Linked DNA regions of Homo sapiens: all the other regions are linked to region 1. Evidence: promoter capture Hi-C in 16 types of primary human blood cells and fetal thymus (Javierre and others, 2016). All regions are on one chromosome and are shown on one strand. Each heading gives the region's core, a stretch centred on a gene start or on the middle of the fragment in contact. The rest is flanking DNA. Distances are from core to core; before and after follow the strand shown. Region 1 holds the start of MXD4 (MAX dimerization protein 4). Region 2 holds the start of SLC75A1 (solute carrier family 75 member 1). Region 3 overlaps GRK4 (G protein-coupled receptor kinase 4).

The links. Contacts are between HindIII fragments. The CHiCAGO score rates a contact against its expected background, and 5 or more counts as called.
Region 2: a contact is called between the fragment with the promoter of SLC75A1 here and the fragment with the promoter of MXD4 in region 1, in 1 of 17 cell types (neutrophils). The highest score is 5.8, in neutrophils.
Region 3: a fragment that was not itself captured here is called in contact with the fragment with the promoter of MXD4 in region 1 in 1 of 17 cell types (neutrophils); the score reaches 7.3 in neutrophils.

Annotation. Positions count from the first base shown.
Region 1 is chr4:2,260,788-2,263,688 of GRCh38, forward strand. It overlaps MXD4 (MAX dimerization protein 4), which reads right to left and starts at 1,322. Exons shown (of 6, transcript NM_006454.3): 1 at 1,130-1,322; 2 at 938-1,037. The coding sequence starts at 1,193. RefSeq lists enhancers at 1-441, 1,673-2,334, 2,335-2,901 and silencers at 542-601, 612-1,001, 1,092-1,151, 1,202-2,041. The HindIII fragment of the contact is 4,464 bases long and covers 1-2,829 here.
Region 2 is chr4:2,933,454-2,936,502 of GRCh38, forward strand. It overlaps SLC75A1 (solute carrier family 75 member 1), which reads right to left and starts at 1,372. Exons shown (of 13, transcript NM_001146069.2): 1 at 1,316-1,372; 2 at 300-491; 3 at 114-210. The coding sequence starts at 470. NOP14-AS1 (NOP14 antisense RNA 1) reads left to right here and starts at 2,093. Exons shown (of 4, transcript NR_015453.2): 1 at 2,093-3,049. RefSeq lists enhancers at 85-952, 2,210-3,049 and silencers at 793-1,012, 1,242-1,551, 1,712-1,821. The HindIII fragment of the contact is 5,918 bases long and covers 1-2,091 here.
Region 3 is chr4:2,969,574-2,972,823 of GRCh38, forward strand. All of the region lies in intron 1 of GRK4 (G protein-coupled receptor kinase 4), which reads left to right. Among named protein-coding and RNA genes, the nearest start is that of GRK4, 7.6 kb to the left of the region's middle. The HindIII fragment of the contact is 6,083 bases long and covers 1-3,250 here.

The DNA of each region.
Region 1 (2,901 bases), core at 72-2,571:
CTCTGAAGCCCCCTACAAACGCAGCTCCCAGCCTGCTCACACAAAAGGGCTGGGCCAAGGTGGGCCCAGACAGGACCAGGTGTGCTATGGTCCTCACAGCAGCCAGGAGGGTGGAAATCCCCGGGGAGCCCCGGCCCAGGGTCCCCACTCCCCACGCGGGGGACCTGTACGCACCCCAGCTTCAGGGCTTCTGCTGCCTGAACACGAGGTCAAGGTATGGAGGGCGCAGCTGGCACCCGTAGTAACGACTTCATGGGGCCCCTGCCCTGCAGCCTGCCCCCTCCTCCCGCCCCCTTAAAAGGCCTCTGTCTTAAAAAAGAGGACCCCCATACTGGTGGCTGGAGTTTCGCTGTGTCAGGAGGCTGGGCAGAAGCGGTGGGCACCCTGGGAGGAGTGAGGGCCCAGGACAGCGCCTCCACTCGCTTCTCTGTCTAGGCTCCTGGGGGCGGGGGAAGGTGGCCGAGCAGCAGAGTTCGGCTGGCAGAGCCAGTCGAAAGGAGGCCGCCCACCCACCCGCGGAGAGAAGGGGTTAGGGCCGGCAGCCCCCGCAGACCCTGGCTGAGCCTGTTTCCCCAGACCCACGGGGCACCGGCCAGCGCCCGCTGACAACTTTTCTACCGCCTGGAAAAGTCCAGAACAACTCGGGGGCGGGGAGCGGGCGCGGGAGCGGACCCCGGCGGCGGGCGCTGTACGCGTGGCACTGTTTACGCGAGCGGCCCGGGAGGCGCGGCCGCGGGAAGATGGCGACGGCGAGGGCGGGGCCGGCCGGGCGGGGCTGCGGCCGCGGCCTGCGCGCCTCCTCCTCCAGGCTGGCCGCCGGGGCGCGCGGCGGCGGCGCTGAGGGCCGCGGGCCGGGAATCGGGGCCCGGAGAGCACGCTCCGGGCGGGGGCGGGGGTTCGGACCGGGCCGGGCGGGGTCGGGAGCGGGGGGCGGTACCTGTTGTTCGGGGCCTTGCGCACCAGGCCGGCCGCCTTTGTTTTCTCCCTGGCGAAGTCGCCGTCGAAGGGCAGCACCGAGGCGTAGCCGTGCTCGGCCTCTGCGGACACACGGCGCGGTCAGCGGCCCCCGCCCGGCACGGCCCCGCCGCCCGCCCACCGCCGCGGGCGCACAATGGGGTGCGAGCGCTACCTCGATCCCTGCGCTCCAGGTACTCGGCCGCCTCCAGCAGGATCAGCAGGGAGTTCAGCTCCATCCTCCCGCCCGCGCCCGTCCGCCCCGGGACGGCGGCGGCCGCTGCCCGGCCCGCTCCGGCCGGCTCCGCTCGCCGCCCACCCCGCGCGCCCGGCCGCCGCACTTCCAGACTCCGCGGACTCCGGCGCTCGGCCGCCACCCTCCGCCTCAGGCCCTCAAATTGACACATAAGGGAGAGCGGCGGCCCGCAGAGCCAATGGGAGGCGGCGTTCGCGCCCCGGGGGCGGGCGCCGGGCCGGGCTGGGGCCAATGGGGACGGGTCGAGCGCCTCGGGCCGGGCCGAGAATGTTGACAGATGCAGAGCTGGGCTGGGATAGGCCGGCCGCGCTAGTAACAATTTAGAAGCCCGAGCTTAGCAACAGCACGTGGTGGCCCGGCCCCCGCGCTAGCTGACTGGCGGCCGCCGTGCATGTTAAGTAGGCGCCGCGCGCCGATTGGCCAGAGCGGCCTATGTAAAACAGGCACTGCGAGCCAATGGCCGGTGGCGGGGCGCGCGGCCAATGAGGGCGCCGCAGCCGGACGCGTTGCCGAGAGGAAGCGCAGCGCGCGGGGACCGCCCGCCGTCCTGGGGGCCCGTTAGGACGCAGGAGCGTCTCCGCTACGAGAGCGAAGCAGGGCGCTCCGGGGCGTGCGCCGGGCCGGGCCGGGCCGCCGGGTCTGAGCGCGACGAAAGCAGTGGCTGCGTGGGGGGACGAGGCCTCGCGCTCTGCCCGGGGGTCTTGCGTGGGGCCGTGAACGACTCCCCTCCCCGCCGGGCGCAGAGTGGCCCCGGGAAGGGCCGGGACCTCGGAGAGGGACGCAGACGCTCTGATCCTAAGAGCCAGGCGTCTCTGAGGGTGTCAGTGGGGAAACAGGCCCAGAGCGGGCGGGCTCCTCAGATCGCCCAGTGGACGCCGGAGCTGAGGGAGGGCCCAGGTCTGGGGAAGGGACACAGACGTGCGGCCAGAGTCGAGAGGCTCCCCGGAGTGGGGGGCTGCATGCTCTGTGTCTGGCCTGAGGGGCAGGGACGTTCCTAGAGGCAGGCGCTGGCCACCTCTGGCCGAGGACGCCCTAAGTGGGGACGGGAGTGAACCCTTCATCAAATCCCAGCTGGCGGGTCTCCCTAGTGACCCCTGACCCTAAGGCTGGCCCAGACTGGCCTCGGCACCCCCCACCCTCTCGCAGATTTTTTTTTTTTTTTTTTTTGAGACGGCTCTGTTGCCCAGGCTGGAATGCAGTGGCGTGATGTCAGTTCACTGCAACCTCCGCCTCCCGGGTTCAAGCGATTCCCCTGCCTCAGCCTCCCAAGTAGCTGGGACTACAGGCGCGTGCCACCACGCCCAGCTAATTTTTGTATTTTTAGTAGAGATGGGGTTTCACCATGGATGGTCTGGATCTCCTGACCTCGTGATCCGCCCGCCTCGGCCTCCCAAAGTTCTGGGATTACAGGTGTGAGCCACCTCGCCCGACCCATCTCACTGATTTGATTTTTGAGGTTGGTGGCCTGGATGTGCCAAGGGCCAGGCCCCGCAGGCTGGAGAGTGTGGAGGCATAAGGTGGCTGGACCCCTCCAGAAGTACTCAGTGGGACACAGGGGCTGCTGCTGGCAATGAAACTGAACAAAAAATGCAAAACCTCAGCACCAGGACTCCTGTGAAAGCTTCGTGTGCATCTCCCTGTGTTTTGCATGCCCGGCTTGCAGATCAGGACATGGGACTAGACGCTCAGGG
Region 2 (3,049 bases), core at 122-2,621, 670 kb after region 1:
AGCCCAGGGAGTGGGAAGGCAAGGACCGAGAATTGGGGAGGGGCCTGGGCTGGACCACGTCCACCAAACATAGGACCGTAGAGAGCCCGCCAAGGGCACAGAGCCAGCCATACCTCCGAACAGGACACTGTTGTACCTCTTCTCCACTGGCATCCCGATGGCGGTGGCAAACCAGTCCACCCCGCCCTGCCAGGAGCCATAGAGGGGGTCCTAGGGGATGAGGAATCACGATAAGGGCTGGGGAGGTCTGATGGGCCTGGGGGGCAGGGGGCACTGTGGGCCGCAGGGCAAGGACTCACGTGGGCACGGCCGTGGCTCTCCAACAGCCCGGGCAGCAGGGGCAGCAGCAGCGTGAAGGCCAGGAGGTCCAGCAGGAGGCCGAGAAAGACAACGGTGACCACGCGGCGCTCCGGCGGCTGCTGGTGGATGGGTGGGCGCGGGGTGCAGCCTCCACCCCCTCCCCATCCCATGGTGGGCTGCTCTGACCTGGCCTGGGTGGGGTGCGGCGGGTCGGGTTAGCGGGGAAGCCGAGTCCTCCGGGGCCTGGCATACCCCCACACCCGACAGCCGGCGAGCACCCTAAAGGGGCTGATGGCAGGGGCTCTGGCCTACGGACGCAGGGGCCGTTCTGGCCTGCGCGATGCCCCCGCCCCGAACCCAGGCAGCAGGAAACGCAGGCTTCGGGGATTGCACAAAAAATAGCCGCAAAGGCAACGGTCCTGAGAGACCAGGGTGAGCACATCGCGGACCTGGCCCCACCCCACCCCACGGCCGCGCCTCCCACGCCCTCGTAACAGCGAGAGAAAACTTGAAGCCGCGGGGAACCCGGATCCCGATCCCGATCCCGATCCCGATCCCAACCCCAACCCCAGCCCCGGCCCGCGCCCCGCGATTCCGGCCCCTGGCCCGGACTCGGTCTCCCTGGCGGGGGCCATGGGGTGCACACCGGACGCAGGAGCACCCCCAACCCCGCGCGCCTCCCACTCCGCCATCCCGCGTGCGTCCCGGTCCCGCCCCCACCCCGCGCGCCCCCGGTCCCGCCCCCCACCCTGCGCGTCCCCGGTCCCGTCCCCCACCCTGCGCGCCCTCTAACCCCCACGCCGCGCGCCTCCCACCGCCCCCACCCCGCGCGCCCCTGGTCCAGCCCCACACCCCGCGCGCCCCCTACTCCCCTACCCTGCGCACCTCTCACCCGCCCCACCCCCGCGTACCCCGGGTCCCGTCTCCTCCCCCACCCCGCGCGTCCCCTGTCCCACCCCCAACCCGAGCGCCCCCTACGCCCCCCACCCCGGGCGCCCCCGGTCCCGCCCCGCACCTGCCGCGGCTGCGCGCTCGGGACGGACGGTCGCACAGACGCGGAACAGGGCACCAGGCACGCCGCCAGGGGCGGGACGGCCACGCCCGGCCACGCCACGCCCCGGAAGTGACGTACATCTCTGCACGTTCTCTTCCGGCCGGAGTCAGTGGCGGGGTTCTCGCCGGTCCTGCGGGTCGCTGCTTGGCTGTGGGTTAGCAGCACCCTGAGCGGAGCGGAAGAGCTGCCCGCCGCCGCGTAACCCCGAGGCCGAGACTCCTGGCCTGGCCTCCTTGGGCCCACGACGCCTGCCCCGCGGAGCGGACCCATGGGCCTGAGGTTTGTGTGCGGGGCCTCAGGCGAGCGCTGGCGCAGCCTGTCCCCCATCGTCTGCGCCCTGCGGGCCTGGCCCTCCCCGTGGAAGGACCGCGGGCTTCGGGGCCCCACGCTGGGGGGCTGACTCCTGCCACACACACAGCGGTGGCCGCGGGCCTGGGGCGGCAGCACAGCCATTCTGCTCGGGCTGCGTGAGCTGACCCCGCTCTCTGTGCACCTACTTTTGCTGCGTTTGGTGCTGAGCCTGAAGTCCCAGGACAGGCGGCTGAGGGGGAAAGATGGTGTGAATTGGGTGGGCAGAGACAACTGAAAGCCACAGGACCCGGTTGGCACCTTTTTGGCCGCCTGCGCCTTTGCCTGCAGCCCCGCTCCCTGGGTCACCCGAAGGAGGAGCTGGCGCTCTTTCCGGGCGCAGAAGCACCCGACCCACGCTGGAGGAAACGGTCCCTCTGGGCAGGAGAAGCTTTGGGCCTGGCTGGAGCACACTCACGGAACCACGCCAACGCCTGGCCTGTAGCCAGCTCCCACCTCCCCTCCCACCTTCTAAAATGCTTGCGGATCTCACGTGGCCGACCCTAACCAGATACACATGGGGAAAGGAATCAGGTGGCACACATACCGCCTTTACTCCATAGAGAACTTCCAATTGTGGGTAAGAACAAAGCCCCACCTCTTCCTAATAGATGCAGTTTTCCACCTGCAGCCAAAAAGACAACCTGTTATTAGCTTTTTTCCCAGAGGACAGGCATCTCTATGAAACTGCCATTGCAAAATTTGCCGACAGTGAGATAACCAGCTCCATTTTGCTTCTAACCTCCATGCCCTCCTTGTTTACTGCTGCACGCAGGTTGAACTGTGGGAGGAACTTAGTTTAAAACAAAGATGATAACAGCCCTTTCCCAAAGGAAACCTTTCCTGGGGATTAGCCTGCTTTTGTGGGACCAACAGATTAGCCACAAGATTAGAAACTACGGTTGAAGAGTCACGCAGCGGGAGGCTACAGGATTCTGACCCTCCCCAAACTGCTCCTGGCGATAACATCACCATCGTAAAGCCTAAGATCAGCACTTGGTGGGTCACCTGGCACCACCCAGGCTCATCTGATGTTGTGGCACCCAGGAACTGACTCAGTGCGAAAACAGCTTCGACTCCCTGTGATTTCATCTCTGACCTGACCAATGGGTACTTCTGACTCACTGGCTGCCCCCCACCCACCAGCTTATCTTTAAAAACTCCAAACCCCAGATGCTCAGGGAGACCGAGTAATAATAAAACTCCAGTCTCCCACACAGCTAGCTCTGCGTGAATTACCTTTTCTCTGTTGCAAATGCCCTTTCTTGATAAATTGGCTGTCTAGGTAACAGGGAAGGTGAACCCACTGGGCAGTTACACTTTTATCCACCCTTCCAGCTGGATCAC
Region 3 (3,250 bases), core at 393-2,892, 710 kb after region 1:
CCATGTTGGTCAGGCTGGTCTCGAACTCCCAACCTCAGGTGATCCGCCCACCTCGGCCTCCCAAAGTGCTAGGATTTACAGGCGTGAGCCATGGTGCCCAGCCTTTTTTTTTTTTAAAGACAGGGTCTCACTCTGTTACCCCGCTGGAGTGCAGGTGGGGAAATCATAGCTACTGAAGCCTCAAAGCCTTGAACTCTGGGGCCAAGCAGTCCTCCTGTCTCAGACTCCCAAGTGGCTGGGACCACAGGCATGCGCTGCCATGCACAGATAATTTTGTGGTTTTTGTGGAGATGGGGTCTCACTATGTTGCCCAGGCTAGTCTGGAACCCCTGGACTCAAGTGATCCTACCCTCCCACTTCAGCCTCCCAAAGTGCTGGGATTACAGGGTGAACCACTACACCCGGCCTATTAGAATTTTCAACAGCATGTAAGATCAAGTTTTCTAGAAAGAGTTATAAACTTAGTATTTCTTATCTGTCAGATATTTGAAGTAATCTATGTAGTAGTCAGCCAAATTATTTCTCTGCCAACAAAAGGTTACCCCATTTTCCCTAAGCAATAATGTCTACCGTCTGTTACTATCATTATGGTACAGCTAATTTGGGATGCTATCAATCAGCCAGGTTATTAGCAACCAGGTCAGTTTGGTTTTCTTATATTTTCTACTTTGTCTATCTAGATTATAATGGCTTTAAATCAGGATTTTTATTTCTTGGTCAGTGAATCAAATATTGGGTTATTGGCTTTATGCTACTTTAGGACCAAAAATATCTATACCACTGATACTATAAAATAATATTCTTGGCCAGGCACGGTGGCTCATGCCTGTAATCCCAGCACTTTGGGAGGCCAAGGCGGGCGGATCACGAGGTCCAGGTATCGAGACAATCCTGGCCAACATGGTGAAACCCCGTCTCTACTAAAAATACAAAAATTAGCCAGGCATGGTGGCATGCACCTGTAGTCCGAGCTACTCGGGAGGCTGAGGCGGGAGAATCACTTGAACCCGGGAGGTGGAGGTTGCAGTGAGCCGAGATCGTGCCACTGCACTCCAACCTGGCGACACGGTGAGACTCCATCTCAAAAAAAAAAAAAAATGTTCTTTTTTTTTGGGGGGGTCAGTCTCGCTCTGTCGCCCAGGCTGGAGTGCAGTGGCGTGATCTCAGCTCACTGCAAGCTCTGCCTCCCAGGTTCACGCCATTCTCCTGTCTCAGCCTCCCCAGCAGCTGGGACTACAGGCACACGCCGCCATGCCTGGCTAATTTTTTTGCATTTTTAGTAGAGATGGAGTTTCACTGTGTTAGCCAGGATGGTCTCGATCTCCTGACCTTGTGATCTGCCCGCCTCGGCCTCCCAAAGTGCTGGGATTACAGGTGTGAGCCACCGCGCCTGGCCAAAAGAATGTTCTTGAGCTTTATATTTTGACCCAAATTAGGCAATAGTTACCTTAAAGAAAAATGATACAGTCAAAATCATTTTGGCTTTATTAAAGCTCCTCAAAAAACTCTAGAATTAGGGCTTTCTTAAGTTACTTTTTAGCAGAAACATTTACGGTATTTTGTACATATGTGTGCAAAGTTGCTTATTAACATTTATGTCATGGTCATAAAGACTAATTTGGTAACAATATTCAGTCTCCAGTAAATATGTGGTTAATTGATATGCAAATTACTTCCAAAGTACAAATTAATAGTCTCATATTACATTTTTGTGCTTTGCTACCTTTACCTCAAACAAAATAATCTGTAGGATTCTTCATGCTTGTTTCAGCACCTTTTGCCCAGCTTTGCTTGCTTCATTGGCCAGAGGACTGTCAGCACCTCATGAAGCCCTTTATATGCTTCTCTGAGGTCATTTGCATAATGTTGTGGCCTATAGTAGGTTCTCAATAAATACCTGATGGATGAATGAATGAATAAGGATGAGGAAATGAACACGGTAGGTATGCCTGGATCTGAAGCAGAAGTGGCCCAAAAATGGAAGGAAAAGAAACTTGGCAGGAATAGCAGGAAGAAGAAAGCGGGGAGGACAGTATTGTGTGAGTTTGCTAGGGCTGTGTAACAAAGTGATACAAACCTGATGTCTCCCGCAACAGACATTTATTGTCTCACAGTCTTGGAGGCCGGAGTGCAAAATCAAGTTGTGAGTGGAGCTGGTTCCTTCTGTGGGCTGTGAGGAAGAATCTGTCGCAGGCCTCTCTCCCAGCCTCTGCTGGCTCGCTGGCAGTCTCTGGTGTCCCCTGGCTTGGAGGTGCATCATTCTGATCTGTCTTCATCTTCACGTGGCGTGCCCTCTGTGGGTGTGTCTGTGTCCAATTTTCCATTTTTATAAGGATACCAATCATGTTGGATTAGGGCCCACCCTAATGACCTAATTTTAACTTAATTGTCTCTATAAATACCCTATCTCCAAATAAGATCACTGTCTGAGGGTTAGGGGCTAACTGGGGAATAGAACTCTAACATAAACGTTTTTTAGGATGGGACGAATTCAACCTGTAACAGGTACCTCTGAAACAGATGAAGGCAGCCCATAGAGGGGATCCTTGGGCCTTCAAACACTGTGGCCCCACTTTACTGCCTGCTTTTGGGGACCTCAAAAACTTAAGAGGAATCCTCTGACAGTTTTCAACCCAGTATGCTGCCCAGACTTTAGTGTCTGTGGATGGTCCTCCTTTGAAATGCCTGTGGCCCTGCCGACCACCGTTGACCTCGCCATGGCCCCACGACTCATCATGCTCTGCCTGGTTCTTCACCTTCTGGCCTCCTTGTCTTTACGTAGTATTGACAGCATAGCCGGCCCACCTTTGAGTATGACCGGGCCCGGGCCAAACAGCGGGGACGTGGAACCAGACTGCTGTGCTGTGCCAGTGGAGACTTTTGGAACTGAGGACAGCTGAATGAGGGGTAGAGTGGCGCTAGGGTTCACCAGCACGTGTGCCCCAAACCTGCGGGGGGGGGCCCTTTCTTCTCTCTCTCTCTCTCTTTAACCTGTGACACTCTGTCCCTTAGACCAAGCCAGGGGACCTTTTGTAGCTGCAGTGTGCAGTGTGTGCTTCATGCCCCACCAGGTCTAGTCATATGTGGCGGGGGCGGAGGGGGAGTCCTGTGTTTAGAGGTGCACAGTGTGTGCGCTGCTGTGTGTGTGTGTTATTTACTCTTTAAAAAAATTTTTTTTTGAGACAGGGTCTCACTCTGTCACCCAGGCTGGAGTGCAGCAGCATGATCTCGGTTCTCTGCAGTCTCCACC